Linked DNA regions of Homo sapiens: region 1 is linked to region 2. Evidence: promoter capture Hi-C in 16 types of primary human blood cells and fetal thymus (Javierre and others, 2016). All regions are on one chromosome and are shown on one strand. Each heading gives the region's core, a stretch centred on a gene start or on the middle of the fragment in contact. The rest is flanking DNA. Distances are from core to core; before and after follow the strand shown.

Region 1 (3,934 bases), core at 1,157-3,656, 48 kb before region 2:
GTGTGATCTTGGGCAAGTTAACGTAAATTCTCTGTGCTGCAGTTTCCTCCTCTATTAAAATTGGGACAACAATAGTACCCACCTCATAGAATTGTGATGGAGAATGCATGAGCTAATTCCTGGAACATACTCAGTAAAGTCGTTAATTGAAAATTCCTTTCTGTTAGGGGAGACCCTCACTATTTTTTCCAATGTGGAATTCTCAATGTAGTTAAGTCTGGTTAATTTTGTTGTTGTGTTCTTTAAGTTGGCAAGTCAGCACCTGTGTATTTAAATAAACACTCATGTTTCCAAATACACTCATTATTTTTATTGTTGACATTTATTAAATTTAATTTAAACTTATTATGCTTGCTCCAAGCAAAAAGAAGCAGCAGAATGAAACCACCTAACCTCTAAACAGGCATTAGCAGACATCGCTACTTGCCCAAGCACTAGTAGGTGTATCTTTGTTTCTAGGGAATGATACTTTTCTATTTTCCTGTTCTTGAAATTGCTATTTGAGTCTTTGAGGCATCAAATAGATGCAGATTAGTACATCCCAGTTTCATTTAAAATGTTGCAGATCTGGTGCCTTTGTTCTTTTACAATCTCTTCCATTGTGACAGGTAGGTGAACAGATATCTGCTGCTTTGGGGTATTAGAAGGAAATAGATAGTAATGCCTTACTCCACTTGGGCTGCTATAAGGGAATCCCTTACGATGTGTAGCTTAAACAATAGACATTTCTTTCTCACAATTCTGGAGGGTGGAACATCCAAGATCAAGGTACTGACAGATTTGTTTCTTAGTGAGGGCTTGCCTCCTGGTGCACAGATGGCCACCACCACGCTGTGAGCTTTCATGATCTCTTCTTTGTGTACAGGCAGAGAAAGTTCTCTGTGTCTTTCTGTCTTTATGAGGGTACAAATCTCATCATTAGGGTCCCACTTTCATGGCCTACTCTAGACTTAATTATCTCCCACATGTTCTACCTCCAAATACCATCACATTGGGGGTTAGGGTCTTATCATATGAATTTTGGGGAGACATAACTATTCATCTCACAACAGAGAGATGATTGGTAGACAGATCAAAAATATTTTCAGCTCTGTTAAGCTACTTATGATGATTGAATGAACTTCCTCTTTCCCCTTTCCCAAATAGCTTTCCAACTTAACACATAAATTTAAGATTTCAGCGAATGCTATGTTGATCTGAAGTATTGCTTTCCATAACACATGTCTGTTTAGGTGCAATGATTGCTTTTACAGATTCCTCCAGGGATTTAGGTCAATGTAAATTATATTTTCATCATGTGAATTACTTTTGAAATTAGATCTTCTTTTCTATTATTCTTCCTCTCTCCTTCTTCTTTGCTCCCTCCTCTCCAGTCACACAGGCCTCCTTTCTGTTCCTTGAACAAACCACACCTGCCACCTTAGATGTCTACTGGCGAACTCCCTTACCTCTTTTAAACCTTGGCTCAATTTTTATCATTGAGTTTACTTGAGATTACTCTGGGGATTCTCTTAAAAATTACCTACCCCCCACATCACACTCATGATCACCCTTACCCCATTCGGTTCTAATTTTTTTCCTATAGCACTAATTATCTTTGCTGGGGCTCAGAAAATGATGTGATATACTTTGGCATATCATTTTCTGAGCCCCAACAAAGATAAAGTGACATATTTTGGCATGTTGAGGTCTTTTAACTAAAGGCAATCTGAAAGCTTCAGAAACAGCATCAGAACAAAGCTCTATCTGATCTTTTCCTGACCATCTGTCTCTGGCCCCTCATTTTCCCCTAACATGAGTCATAGAAACCAGAATTATTCTTCCCCAAGGCAGGGTAGAAACAAGAACCTCTTTTCCCCAAAGCAAGCTATAAAAACTGAAATTATTGTGTACTCTTTCCCTACCTTTCTGTGTAGAAATTGGCCATAAAAAAGTTCACTGATGTACCATGTCAGATAGGAGGTCATAAGACCTCATTTCAAAGGGGTCTTACCCATAGCTGGGAGGAAGAGATGCTACAACAAATAGGTCAAAAAGAATCTGAACAGACAAGCCTTGCTGGGTTTCTCTACTCAGTCTACTAGTATTTGACCATATCCTTTTTTGTCCATATTTTTATAAGATCCTCTGTTCTTCATTGAACCAATACATAAAAATGTATCCTTGGCCGGGCACGGTGGCTCATGCCTGTAATCCCAGCACTTTGGGAGGCTGAGGTGGGCAGATCACCTGAGGTCTGGAGTTCGAGACCAGCCTGACCAACATGGAGAAACCCTGTCTCTACTAAAAATACAAAATTAGCCAGGTGTGGTGGCTCATGCCTGTAATCCTAGCTACTCGGGAGGCTGAGGCAGGAGAATGGCTTGAACCCGGGAGGCAGAGGTTGCAGTGAGCCGAGATCGAGCCATTGCACTCCAGCCTGGGCAACAAGAGCAAAATTCCATCTCAAAAAAAAAAAAAAGTATCCTTGGGTCTTCATTCTAAAGGATCTCATGACACATAAATTTTGATTAAATAAATTTGTTTTGCTTTTCTCTCGTTAAGGTGTCTCTTGTTATAGGTGTGTCAGCCATGGAAAGGTTAGCACACCTTTTCACTCCTACATCTTCTACATACTAAATAAATATTTGTTATATCTATGGTTATTGACCATCTTTTCCTATTCAAATGAAAGTTGCATGACAGCAGGAATCTTTGTTTTGCTCACTGCTGTACCCCAAGCATCCAGCTTATAGTAAGCTCTTGGTAAGTTTTTCTTGAATAAATTGGCAGAATAAAACATATAAAGAGCAAGTAGCTTACTGCTAGTCTAGCCAAAATTGAACAAATATACTTCTCTGTGTTCACAAATGAATTGTGTAAAAGCACTGTACTTCTCTTGTAAAGTATTAAATTGGAAGATACGTATAATTCATTTTACTTTATTCTAAATGAATTATTGTTGCTTTTCAGGCCAGATGTAGCTAAAATCAATCCTCAAACTGTTGCCTTTTTAAACAGTAAATATGGAGAAAAAAATCTTCATCAAATTTGATAGTTAGAATAATAAAAGAGATAGTTACCTTCCAAAGTAAAAAAATTTATTTATAAATCAAGTGAAAGCTTGGTGATGTTAAAAAAAATTATTAGAGATGGAGTCTGGGCACAGGTTATTTCTTTTGCTGCTTTATTTATCTTGGTAACTTGCTCTGTAGCTTTCTGTGCCTCAGTTTTTCTCCCTTTGTTTTCTAGTTTGCCAGATCTCTTCTGCATGGAGTTGAAACTACGTAGACCCTCATTTCATCCTCGTTGTCAGTAAAAGGGACAAAAGAAATAGCCTACTCATCTATCGCTTTCTGCTGGCGTTACTCTTGCCCTTGTTCCCATTCTCTGTAATAGTCTTCTGCTGTGATCCAGCCCCACTGCATTTCCAAATTCTGGCAACTTCCAAGTGCTGAAGTCACTTTGGCTGAGAACTTCCTTTGGTCCTCCCAGTTTCCCTCTCTGGGTCCTCCCAGTTCCCTCTGCCTGAATCTGACAAAACAAATATAGTGCATCAGTCTTCCTTGCTGAACTTCCAAGTTACACCTCATCCTGTAGGTATCTAGTTCTGTGTGCTATGTCAGACTTGGTAATAACAGCCGTTTCTTCCACAGTCGATTCTGTCTTTTTACTGCTTACCTTTGAACTATCTCCTATTTTTCTTTTGCCATCTATTTTAGTTTTTTTTTGTTTTGTTTTTTTACCTCCCAGGTAGACTTCCTACTTGCCTCACTCTAGTACATGGGGAGAATTACAGCTTTCGGCCATTCAAAGAGTGCTGCATCTTACTATAATTATCCACAGTGTACCTGGCTACATGTCAAGATATGAGTTATCTAATCTTTACATCTTAAAAAACATCAGAATAGACTATGTAATTTGCAGTCTTTTTCTGTCCTATGAGAGTTTATTA
Region 2 (3,746 bases), core at 481-2,980:
GAGATAAATCAGCTTCATTTAGTAAGGCGGGAAAGAGACAAACTTCTCCCCGTATATATTAACCCTAACCATGACATATAATGACATTTTCTTTAAAAGCGTTTAAATAAATTTTTTATCTTTAATGCATGACACACTATTGGATATCATCTGGAAATATTGAGAGCTATAACTTTTTGTTATCAAAAAAGCACTAGAGCACTTTTTTTGTGCTCTATAAGCAAGCACTGTGAAGCTGCTTTTCCAGGGAGTCTTTTTTATCAGAGTCTTAGAACGAACATGCCCTGCAGTATAGATTCTTTCTTTCACCAGTTGTGTCTGGGGGAAAGAGATGAAAACTACCAGTGTGCTCTCTGCTCCTCTAATTAACATACACCTCCTTTCTAGAAATTCAGGGATTTCTTTGGAAAGAGAAATTTTTTTTTTTTTTTTTTTTTTTTTTTTTTTTTTTTTTTTTTTTTTTTTTTGAGACGGAGTCTCGCTCTGTGGCCCAGGCGGGAGTGCAATGGCGCAATCTTGGCTCACTGCAAGCTCTGCCTCCCGGGTTCACGCCATTCTCCTGCCTCAGCCTCCCAAGTAGCTGGGACTACAGGCGCCCGCCACCACACCCGGCTAATTTTTTGTATTTTTAGTAGAGACGGGGGTTTCACCGTGTTAGCCAGGATAGTCTCGATCTCCTGACCTCGTGATCCGCCCGCCTTGGCCTCCCAAAGTGCTGGGATTACAGGCGTGAGCCACCGTGCCCAGCCCGAAAAATGTTTATTATAAATCTATCCTTCCTAAAAAAGACATTACTGGCTTTTTTTTTTTTCAAAGAGAGATTTATAATATGCCAGGTTGAATTTAGGGGAAAAAAATAAAAACAAATAAGAGTTGAATGTTGGGCTACAGAAAGCAGATATTCCAGAAGATTTAGTGAAATTATATTCTTTGAAAATATTGTAAGAGAGTTAGGAGAGTGAGTTCAGTATTTAATTAAAGGCAAAAACAAGATCCTGTGTTTGAAAAACAAGATATACTAAATGAACATGTCAATCTTTAAAGACATGAATTGATTCTCATGGAATTTGGGTACATTTAAACAATGCACCTTCTTCATTACAGTGCTATAAGGTATTTGGATTTACACTGCAAATTTGGAATTCAACCTGATTTCATTTTCTTCCCTAAATCTCAACATATATATTACATTATTTGGTATGCCTTTAATCTTAAATTTACAAAGAAATTATTATCAACACAGGTGTTCTGAGTCTGGAGTGGAAATATTTAAACAGATTTGATTTTTAAAGTGGTCTGATACTCATTTTTTAAAAATGTACATTTTTATATTTGGGGTTTGTTATAAACTTTGCCTTTTTAAATAATGCAAAAATGCTCTAGGTTATTCACTGTCTTTTCAATTTTGTTCTCCTTTGGAAAAAAGGAGGAAGTAGTTACTACTTAAGGACAAGTAGCAATTTCAGACGCGCGCACGCACACACACACACACACACACACACATCACACACACAGAAATCCACAACAGCACTCATGGAATTTAGGACTGATTAATTTACATATTATTTAAGCATATTTTCTGACTTCAAACTCCTGGTTCTAATAACTAAGCATTTACATTTACAATATTAGCTTCTATGAGAAGAGAGCGTTCTCCCTCTTCCCCTTTAATTCCACCTTAAAACATCTGCAAAAGCGCAAGGAGACCAGCCCACATTTTAGCCCCTCCTACTCAGGATAAGACTTTCTCTAAGTCCGGAGCTGAAAAAGGATCCTGACTGAAAGCTAGAGGCATTGAGGAGCCTGAAGATTCTCAGGTAACTCTGGGAACTGTAAGCAATATATTTATTCTTCCTCTGCTCCACTTCTCTCTCCCACCCTCCTTAGCTTTTACTTGGTAGTTTACTTGGAAGGAAGAAAGGACGGAGGGGAAACCTCGCTGCTTTAAAAAGTCAGCATGTCCTCTGCCTTTTGAAGTGAAACACAGATTAGGGACCTCAATTTTCTTCAAACCCACGCAGATTTGCCTTCCTGGATCTAAATGCACTGTGGAGTCAAAGATTAAGGTGTTTCTTTGGGTTGGAATCCCAGAAAGTTAGCATTCAAAACGGCGGTGAGGTGGCGCTTATTAGCGTTCCACGTGATGACACCCAATGGTTACTGATCCCCAAACTTGAGCAGCAGCATGCTGTGCTGTTTGACAGCCCTAGCGATCTTTAGCGAGAGACTTTGTTGACTCACTTAACTTTTAATTTCTAAAAATTGGTCATTTTTGTTACTTATGGGACGCTTTCCTGGCTAGTCAATATTTTGCAGAATTATGCGAAAGAAAGAGGATTATTGAAAAATTAACTGTAAACGGACTGGTGTTCTGATGATCCACCCTTCCCCTAAGTTACTTGGCTTGCCAAGAGAAAAAAAAAATCTCAAAACTAGATACTAGAAAAGATTTGATCAAATTACATAGTTAAATTTTGAGTGTGGATATTTCAGTAATTTTGTTTCCAAAAAAAACAGAAAAAAAAGGTATTTGATTTTAAAGTATCAGTGGATGAATGTATCTGTCTCCTACAATTTATAATCATTTTAGTCTTAAAAATAAATTCACCTCCAAAACCAGAACAAGAAATACTCCTCATATGGGTTGATGATGTCAGCATTTATTCAGCTAAGGCAGATGGAGAGTATTAGAGGCGTACTGTCTGAATGGGTGTCAATTCTAAAGTTATATTTGCCAATATAATTTGAGTTCAAAGAAGATTTGTATTTTTGTTTCTCTTTGTTGTTTAAATTTAGAATTGTGGCTCAAGGGATATTTGTAGAGGACTGTAGTGAAACAAGCTCTGTTAAGAATTTTAAAGTTACATTCTACAGGTTCCTACACCTTGCCAATCAAGTTAGAGGTTGGGATAAGAAACAGGTATTTACTTCTTTCATTAGCTCCGGAAGAGTTAAATTTTAAATTAAGCAATAATTGTGAAATGCATAGAGAAGTGTTTAATGTGCATTTGCTCAAAGGAGTTTTACAAACTTCCCTTAGGGGAAGCATATTTTTTGAGATAAGACATTGCATCTTTTTAACATATTTTTAAAAAGTAAGTTATTCTGGCTGGGCGCAGTGGCTCATGCCCGTAATACCAGCACTTTGGGAGGCCGAGGCGGGTGGATCACTTGAGGGCAGGAGTTCGAGACCAGCCTGGCCAACGTGGTGAAACCCCATCTCTACTAAAAATAGAAAAACTAGCCGGACGTGGTGGCAGGTGCCTGTAATCCCAGCTACTTGGGAGGCTGAGGCATGAGAATCGCTTGAACCCAGGAGGTGGAGGTTGCAGTGAGCCAAGATCGCGCCATTGCACTCCTGCCTGAGCGAAAACAGCGAAGCTCTGTCTCAAAAAAAAAAAAAAAAAAAAAAAAGTAAGTTATTCTGAAGTGTTTTGCATTTTTGCATTTACATTTAATTAGGAAAAGAAAAATTATTAAATAGATTTTTAGCAACTGAAAATGTTCATTCCATAGAGGTTATTTGGCTTATGTTTTTAACCCATTATCTTTTCTAGTGCTGGTACTTAGAAAGCAGTCATAAAATCGAATCATCTACATATTAAAATTATGTTCCAGGAATAAAAAAGAGGAAGACAGAATTAGTTGTGGTTCCCATTCATCTTGTTTGCTTTTATTTACCATCAGTTTTTTCCTCCTTCTTGCTCCAGATTGTATAGCTTGCTTGCTTGCTTGCTTGCTTTCTT

Evidence for each region. The method cuts DNA at HindIII sites, captures the fragments that hold promoters and counts their contacts. A CHiCAGO score of 5 or more calls a contact.
Region 1: a contact is called between a fragment that was not itself captured here and the fragment with the promoter of PLA2G4A in region 2, in 1 of 17 cell types (monocytes). The highest score is 5.3, in monocytes.

Annotation. Positions count from the first base shown.
Region 1 is chr1:186,778,474-186,782,407 of GRCh38, forward strand. No RefSeq gene overlaps it. Among named protein-coding and RNA genes, the nearest start is that of PLA2G4A, 49 kb to the right of the region's middle. The HindIII fragment of the contact is 1,387 bases long and covers 1,714-3,100 here.
Region 2 is chr1:186,827,219-186,830,964 of GRCh38, forward strand. It overlaps PLA2G4A (phospholipase A2 group IVA), which reads left to right and starts at 1,731. Exons shown (of 18, transcript NM_024420.3): 1 at 1,731-1,817. The HindIII fragment of the contact is 13,801 bases long and covers 1-3,746 here.